Linked DNA regions of Homo sapiens: regions 2 and 3 are each linked to region 1. Evidence: promoter capture Hi-C in 16 types of primary human blood cells and fetal thymus (Javierre and others, 2016). All regions are on one chromosome and are shown on one strand. Each heading gives the region's core, a stretch centred on a gene start or on the middle of the fragment in contact. The rest is flanking DNA. Distances are from core to core; before and after follow the strand shown.

Evidence for each region. Contacts are between HindIII fragments. The CHiCAGO score rates a contact against its expected background, and 5 or more counts as called.
Region 2: a fragment that was not itself captured here is called in contact with the fragment with the promoter of CHRM3 in region 1 in 2 of 17 cell types (megakaryocytes and naive CD4 T cells); the score reaches 5.5 in megakaryocytes.
Region 3: a contact is called between a fragment that was not itself captured here and the fragment with the promoter of CHRM3 in region 1, in 1 of 17 cell types (megakaryocytes). The highest score is 6.0, in megakaryocytes.

What each region holds. Positions count from the first base shown.
Region 1 is chr1:239,385,107-239,387,968 of GRCh38, reverse strand. CHRM3 (cholinergic receptor muscarinic 3) reads right to left here and starts at 1,401. Exons shown (of 7, transcript NM_001375978.1): 1 at 742-1,401. RefSeq lists enhancers at 1-178, 179-679. The HindIII fragment of the contact is 9,736 bases long and covers 1-2,862 here.
Region 2 is chr1:239,736,743-239,739,604 of GRCh38, reverse strand. The region is part of intron 5 of CHRM3 (cholinergic receptor muscarinic 3); the gene reads right to left. Among named protein-coding and RNA genes, the nearest start is that of CHRM3-AS2, 19 kb to the right of the region's middle. The HindIII fragment of the contact is 171 bases long and covers 1,388-1,558 here.
Region 3 is chr1:239,715,561-239,718,422 of GRCh38, reverse strand. All of the region lies in intron 5 of CHRM3 (cholinergic receptor muscarinic 3), which reads right to left. All of the region lies in intron 1 of CHRM3-AS2 (CHRM3 antisense RNA 2), which reads left to right. Among named protein-coding and RNA genes, the nearest start is that of CHRM3-AS2, 2.1 kb to the left of the region's middle. The HindIII fragment of the contact is 2,233 bases long and covers 303-2,535 here.

The DNA of each region.
Region 1 (2,862 bases), core at 152-2,651:
ACACGCAAAAATTAACCTCGCTATTAGGAGGCTATGCTGAGGAAGTGTTCCAAAGAGGAGAACCGGTGCAGTCCAGCGGCCGCTGCCTCGCGAGTGCAGACTCTCCCCGGGTCAGTAAAGATGCGCACTAGGCTAGGTACCTTCGCCCAAGTGTTACTCGAAGTGCCAAATTTGCCTTCTCGCCCCCTGAAATGCAATCCGAACTTGCGGCCCCACTGCGAGGTTGGCGGGTGCCAGCTTTAGCCTTCTTAGAAATGACAGGAAACCAAATGGGGAGATGGGAGACAAACGCTCAACACACGAGTGCGCTCACAAACACACCCGGAGCCCAGTAGCTCCTCATGCTCGGGCACTTTGGAGCCTCAGATCCGGCAGTGGCGAAGAGAGAATCGAAGCGAGGGAGAGCGGGGTGGGACGTCCCCGACTCTCTCCCGGCCACCGCTCGCATGATTCCCGTCCCTTTCGGGGCACTTGAGTGCCAGCGGGCGTTCCCCACCCTCAGTCCCAGAACTCCAACTCCGCACCAGATCGCGCTGTCGGAATTCAAGTGCCCCCATCTTCCCCAAATCAACAGCCTCTCTCGTCCCTACCCAGCCCCTTCTTTGGACTCCAAACACAAGACCTCTCCTACCCGCGCCGAAAACTTTTTCCTCCTTTCGCAACGAGATAAGGCAAGAAACCAGGTCAGCCGCTACCGCCACCCGCTCTGCCCAGCGCCTGGGTGGCGGGCGCCGTCCCTACCTGGCAGCTGCGCTCCAGGTGGCTGTCCCACGCCGGTCTCCGCGCCTGCCCGGTGCGCGGGTGGCGTCCGCTCCACCTTCCCTTCGTCTCCTCCGGCTCCGCGTTCAGGGAGCGACTGTCCTTAAGATCGTGCCCCCCTGCCCGGAGCCGCCCTTCAGTTCATCGCCCGTCTTCCCAGAAGCGCTGCTGCGGCCCCGGCGGACTGATGAGGAGCCTGGAGATCCGCGATGGCACCGATGGCCCCGCGGTGTGCGCTCCGGGGTCTGAGAGCGCTCCGCCCGCGGGCAGCTGCGGCCGCGCGTCACATGCCGCCTCCGGGCAGCGGCCGCGGCACCTGCCCAAGCGGCAGCGCTCCCGGCTCGGCAGTGCCGCCCCCGCGCCCTGTGCTCCCCTGCACGCTCCGGCCCTTTCTGTTCACGCCCTTTTCCCTCTGTCTCCCGCCTCACTTTTTCTCTTCTTTCCGTCTCCTTCTTTATCGTGTATTCCCTTTCTCCAAAAGCAGAGAGAAGGCGCTCCAAGGGGGAGGAGAGGTCTTTTCCTCCCCACGAACTCTTCCTCTGCCTGGTGGTGGCGGTCGTGGCTACTGCTGGCCGCTCCTCCTCTCCTTCCTCCTCGCGTTCCTCCTGCTCCTCCTCCTCCCCGGACTGAGAGAGCTGGTGTAATGCACAGGCTGCGTGCTTGAGACCAAAACCTGCCCGGCTTCTGAGCATGCCCAGTTGCCCTGCCGGCGCCTAGCTCCATTCCCGCGTGCCCGCTGGGCTCCGCGTTCTCCGCCTGGCAGGGGGCGAGGAGATCCCAGGGTACTCCTGGGGTGGGTTGGCTGAAAGCGGAACACCAAGCAGGAGAGAGGGGGGCCTCACCCACCCAGCATGGCCTCACCTGTTCCCAAATTGTGCCTCCCGCGGCGCTTCAAAGATAGATTTTGCCGGTCTGTTAGTTTTGTTGTGTTCGCTTTTAAATTGGTTTCCCTGGACTGCTTAGAAGGACTGGAAGGAATTCGATTCCTTGGGCACAACTTATCGATGAGTGAACTTCAGCTCAGTTACAATATACGACTCCATGGCAAACCTTTCTCTAAGGAACAGTCTGATGCATCTACTTTTTGACATTTAGTGAGTCTGTTTCTGCAGAGCAGTGTAATAGAGGACGACTTGACTTTTCCCTCCCTGGACAGTTACACCTTGGGAGAAAATAAGACAAGCATCCATGAAGAAGACACTGACGTGCACGCGCGCGCGCGCGCGCGTACACACACACACACACACACACACACACACACACACACACACACTTTTTTAAATCAGAAAATAAAATGAAAGATATAACATTGCTAGCCAGTCTTTTAAAGCTCAAGAGGAATGAAAATCTAAGAAAGAAAGAAAGAAAGAAAGAAAGAAAGAAAGAAAGAAAGAGAGAGAGACAGAAAAGGTTATTATGTACTACTGCCAGCTAACTATGTAAGGAAAAAGTGGAGAGATACCAAATTTGAAAAGATACCAATGAGGCTGTCCCACGGCACTCTCGAGGTTTTGTTTAAAAAGCACATAAGGAAAGATAACAGAGGAATCTCACAAGAAAGGACAAGCATAACAATGATAACTGAAAAAGAAGAAAAGAAAGAAAAAGGAAGGAAGGAGGAAGATAAAAAGAAGAAAAAAGCAAGAAATTGAAGCATAGTATGAAATGAAATATTTAACAATATTAAAGGCAGCAAATGATTTTAATTCTATTTGGAACAAGAAGATAAATAGGAAAAGATAGAGCTCTTTGAAAAATTAAGTAATTCTAAGAGATTAGAGAAACACCAGTATATGAATTCCTTTCTGAACCTATATTCTTCTCTAGGTAGAACAATCTTTAGGAGAGAAGAGACTAAACTTTGCGTAGAAAAGATTGAGATCATGCTGGGAAAATAGCTAGTGAGAAAGCATGTGGCTACTTAAATTAATTAAAATATCTAGGCTTAGGTAAATTGCATCCAGGATACTAGAATAGTAATAATAATAACAATATTGTAGCCTTTTTATTGGGATACCTCTCAGAAGAAAATATAACAGTTACTTTCAGATACTTCTTTAATCTTTAAAACAATCAAATGAGTATTTTATCCTTGTGTACTAA
Region 2 (2,862 bases), core at 224-2,723, 350 kb before region 1:
AATGTCCCAGCCTTATTAGCATTATAGCTGAGTTAGCCAGTTCCAAGAGTGGGTGGGAAACCTCAGTATTCACCATCTTCATTCAGTGTGGACTCTAAAATATTCTACGCACAAGGGGAGTTTCTTGCCTGAAAATGAATGTGATTTAGCTCACCTGACTAAAGTTTCAACAGCTATGCAATGTTATGGTGAAAGATTGCTGCAGTTGGCTTTGATTGGTACTGTTTTGGAAAAGAAATACTTTTGGATTTTTTTCTTTTGTGAAAAGGGCAATACAAGTGTAAGTCCTGAGCTCCTATTAATAGCCCCGGCAAGCACAGCAGCAAAACTCAGTGCATGCCCGTTTTCAAGTGCTTCTGAAATGACAGGAGCTTTCAAACAGAACTGGGCAATGCATTTTTCCAATGCCAATGCATGCTGGTGCTGCTGTGCCCTGTCAAATACATAATATTGAAAAGCCCAACTGGGCACCTATTTGCTACAATGTTCTTGGCTGTTCTCCACCCATCATGTCCCAAGATAGAATCTGCTCAGAACAGCAACTCTGTTCTTAGGTGCTTCCTGTAGTGAGCATTAACAAAACGATTGAAATCTATGGAAACAGGTAGGGACGATGTAAGGGGAGGCAGGTGCAAAAATCTTCCAGGAGCAACCTCAGAAGAGATATTGCATGCACTGTGCCTTAGCAGTGACCAAGGCTTCTACCTCAAAAACAAACCTTAAATGAAAGCTGTCTTTTCCAGGACCATGCATGGAGAGGAATAGATACAGGACTCTCTGAATAATATCTGCTATTTACACAGTGCTTTTCTAAGTGAACAGAATACACTCTACAAGCCCTCTTGAGGGAGCAGAAAAAGTGTTCAAATGGTTAATTTTAAGTTTCTGTTCCCAGTGCACAAGATCTGGGAAAAGAAAGTCATGGGTCTGTATAGACTGGGCTTTTGTCCCTCTCTCATTTCATTCCTCATGTTCAATCATTTATTTGACATGTTTCTAATATCAAATTTACAACATGCATCTACTCAAGAGGACAGTCACACTTTCCTAGGGAAGCACTGTTTTCTGACTGCCCTGAAATTAATGTGTTCTATTCTCCCATTTGTACATGCTTCCTGGACTCCCAAACCCCCCCTGAGCCTGGCCTTGGGATAATAATCCCCATTTGGCTGGCTGGAACCACCTGATGACCCGACTGTTAAGCTCCAGTACTGACTGCAAGCCAGGGCTCTCCCGACAGGGCACTGGTGCTGAAGAGCTGAGCAATGTAGCTTCTCTCAAATTCTCTACAGAGGTGCATCCTACAATTATAGATGACTTCAGAGAAGGAATGAAGGGCATGGGGTTATCAGGGAGGAGGACTGGGTGAGAGAAGGAACCAAAAGCTTGTTACCAAAATGCAGATACAAGGTACCATTAGAGAAAATTTAGTCATATTGATGTTTCACTGCAAACCTGCCATAGTGGAGGAATTGTGAACTCAAACCCCATATTCGTTTTTAAAGTTGTTCTCTTAATTCTTGCTGCTAATGAAACAATTAGATAAATTAAAGAAGCTTCATCCACAAGTAATTATTTCAGTTTTTTGTTGTTGTTGTTGTTGTTATTTTTGTCATTCTCATTCCCAGGTTGGTATTATAAGGAAGAAACAAAAGTAGTCAATCATATTTTCTGCCAGTGGTTTCTGGGCATTTTTTGTTTGTTTGTTTTTTAATTGCCCGTATGTGTTCTGAAAGATCAGCTTGCTTCAGTTGTTGACTCTCTGAGATCTAATCAGATATCTTAACAGATAACTTTGTAATTCATAAGTATTGTCTCCTAGGCAGGATGTCTTACGAAGAGTTTTCTGGGTCACCTACTCCTTGAAACAAATAAAAACAACACAGAGAGCAGCATAACATTACAAACAATGCCATCCCAACTCTGGAAAACATTGCTCTACCCTAGGTCAACTCTCAGTGCCCTAAGCAGCCAAGAACCAGTGATACAAATGTGCAAGAAGAAAGTGGTTATAATTTAAGGTTGAGGAGCAGAGGATGTTGTAAAAGCAAGTGAGGTCAAAGTTAAGAGTCAGGGCTTTAGTTTTGAACTATGTGCTTAGGACTTTGCTGAATGGCATTTGAAACATCTGAACACCTCTAAACGGGGTTAGTTGTGTGTTTATTTTTTCTGAATTTAAATGATTTGTGGCAACCATCCCAACATTATCGCACTTTCTATGACTGAGGATAGATTTAGTGGTTAGTTTTAAGTTCCATTATTTGCTCAGATTTTCTCTGGAAAATTTATTTTGTCAAAACAGATCATTGCAAAGTGGCTTTACTCACTACTCATGGTGATAAAGGGCAATAATTGCATTGTAAAAGTTATTTGGTCATTTTATTAAAATGTGGGATGAAAATTCTTCTAATAAATATGCCCTGATGACCAATGGTTTTAAGTAGATTTAGGCACATCATTGTAATTATTTATACTTTAGTGTAATATATTAGAGAAGTAATATGAATGAAGAAAATGTTGATATTAAGTCACATGTATACTTACTTAGCCAGAGTTCATTTTGGGGATAGAAAAGTCCCTTAAATGAACCAATAACAATAAACTATTTTAAAATACTTCTGCAGTAGCAGTAATTCTATACAAATATAAATGTGTTATATAAGTATATTCATACATTTTCAGCAAGACTGAACTTTCATGCAAAACTAAGAGTAGAGAATCGATTTCTATGATTACCCAATGGAATATTTTAAGTGAATATTTTAAGTTGCAGCCATTTTTATAGGCAAATTCTTTACAAGTTACTTAATTACACTTTATTATATATGAGAAAACAAAACATTAACAACACAATGCTGCCAG
Region 3 (2,862 bases), core at 170-2,669, 330 kb before region 1:
CTTCAGAAGTCAGTATCTGACTCTAAGATGCCAGGAAAATTTCACCTTGTGTCATGTTTCACGCTGAGGAGTTTGTATAGCGCTAGTGTAAACCTTGGTCTCTAAGACACATTCCATGGTGAATTTATTTCAAATTCCAAACTGAGTTTATTCCATTTCACTCACTTAAAATTCCAGTTGTGATTGGAAAATATACACTTCATTTACCTTCTGCGCAGTGTTCAATGAACCGCTTGTCATGTTTCACCCTAGTAGGTTGCATTTCAATCCTGAGTGTGTCTGTGTAGCAGCTGATTAAAGCTTTGCTATTATTTGTAAGGGATGTTATAACATGCACTGTCATCTTTCTTGGCATTTTTTGAAACGGTAACATGAGGATTCTGGCAAAATAATATGGTAGTTGCTACTCTTTCCTTACACCTATACCATTTACTTGTCAGTAAACAAAATCATGTTTTCAATGAAGTAGACAAATAGAAAACTCAGCTTCCCTATCCTGTTGTATCTTGTGCCACTCTCTATAAACTGACATGGCATAAAATGACATAGCTTGATAAACTGCTGGAGTCAAACACAGATTACTGCCATTTAGCTAGAGCAGGACACGTCACTTGAGGACACGGCCCCAAGGAATGTCAGTTCTAGAGGAGGAAGGATAGAACCGAAATGAGGGATCTGGTTCTTTGTTGTGTGTGGCTGAATTTCCCGGACATTGTTTAAGGCAGAAATGACAGGTAGCATAAAAGAGCAAACCTTACCTTAAGAAAGCAGATTATATAAGCACCCCCCTTGAATCCCAAATTCCTGCCACACTAGGACTTTACCACATAGGTTATTGCTCAGATCTGATGAAATGTTAACTCCAATCCGTAACCAACTGATAACAACCAAAAACCACATTAGTCATTATTTACTAAGATAACAACGATAAAAATCATGTGTGTGTGTGTGTGTGCGTGTGTGTCTTTCCTTGAGTTCTGTATCAGGATTTTATAATGCTGAGAGAGTTGTCTATTAAGAAACATGTTTCAACTTTATTCCAAAGAAATGGTCCCCACTACTCTCTGTGAAACTGTTAATGTCCAGCATGGCTCTTGTTATCAACAGGATCTATTCTATGCTTTCCTGGTACCAGCATAATTAAGTCAACAAAACTGGTTGCTTTCAAAGCCAATAACTATTCAAGGCTACTTCCTCTGCAAGGGCACAGTTTTAATACACCCATAAGCCTTATTCAGGATCTCAATCTTTTGCAGTTGAAAAATGAATCCAAGAACACCGTTAGAGAAGCTCACAATTCAACTCAGATCTTACATTTGAACTTTTTCTTTTTTGGAAAATGTACTCATGGTAACTTTATTCATGCAAAAAAAAAAACTGGAAGTGATTGAGAACATTTGTTTTTCTGGCATTGAGGACATTTCAATTATTGTCCCTTAATATGTCATCTCATAACTATTATCTGGAACAAGTATTCTTCAAATATGCCATATGGATGGTTAAAATCAAAACAAACTATTAATAACAAATCTAAACAAAGCCAAACAACCAAATACACATACAAATAAACCAAATGAACCCTCCTGTACATTCTCATTTTGTCAGAGAGCTACATCCCCGCTCCCCTTGAGCTACGTTTGGGCCCCTCCCTTCTTCTAGCAAGGTTTTTTAAAGTTTAGGTTCTTCTTTCCTTTCCCTTCTTCTCCCTTCTCCTCTTCCTCTTCTTTTTTTAATTCTATTTTAGGACCCACTGGTTAGCTTTCCTTATTACCAAATTAAAAATATTATTTATTCACTCTCTTGCAAAAAAAGGCTCTTTTGAGAGTCACACTGTTTAGCTGTAAACATCATTTCTCCCTGTGAATGGCTGGAGTCCCAGTGAAGCCTTCTACATTTAACAAAGGCTTTGGTACATGGCTTAAAGTCTTAATATCCAACCCAAGATCCTGGATGACGTCAATGCCCTTTTCGATTATCAACCAGCACCTGCTTTATAGCTCCCTATTATTCACTACAATAGTCTTTTTGAACCTCCACTCTGCTTCAGCCAGTCACAATCATGGAGACCCCAAACTTGGCCACCTCTATACTTGTTCACTCTGTGAAGTTATTCTCTAAACAGCGCCAACCAACTTTTCAACTCTACCGACTTTGTATTTCCACTCCATCAGTTCTACAACCTCATTCATATCTCAAATCCCCTAAAAGTATCACTTTCTTTACTTCTAAAAGCTCCCTTTGGCTCTACTTTCTTCTCTCTTTAACCTAGACATCATAGCCTATCACTTCAAACATCCTCCTGTTAGTACCCACTTCTCGTTTGAATTCTTGTCGTCCCTCCACATTTTCCTCCAGAATTTCAACCCAAGATCAATGCAATTATTTTATGTCTGTTTTCATACACCTGGGTTGCTACATTCTGGTTAACTTCATGTGACTCTGCAGAATGGTACTGGTACAAAGCCCTGGTCTTCAACATCACTAGGACTTCAACACTGTCCAAATTTCCTTCCACATCTCCTTTTCTTTCAAGCTTTAACTGTTTCTTCCAATCCAACAGTATGTACAAACTGCCACTTCCTCACTCTCAGCAAAGCCCTCCTGTCCTAATTTACAGGTAAAATAGCCTGTGAAGTGAGAATTAACTCAATGTCCTTTCCTCCCTATGAACTGATTCCAGCCTAACTCTTTGCCACCCAACTCATTAGAAGAGATATCTTTTCTCTTATCCAAAACTAATCTTCCCACTTTTACTCTGGATCCTACCTTCCTCCCTCTTTATCTGTTTTATTAGCAATCCCACTTCTCACACAAACCTTCAACCTCTCCCATCCCATTGGTTTCTATGTGGTGGTGCACTGG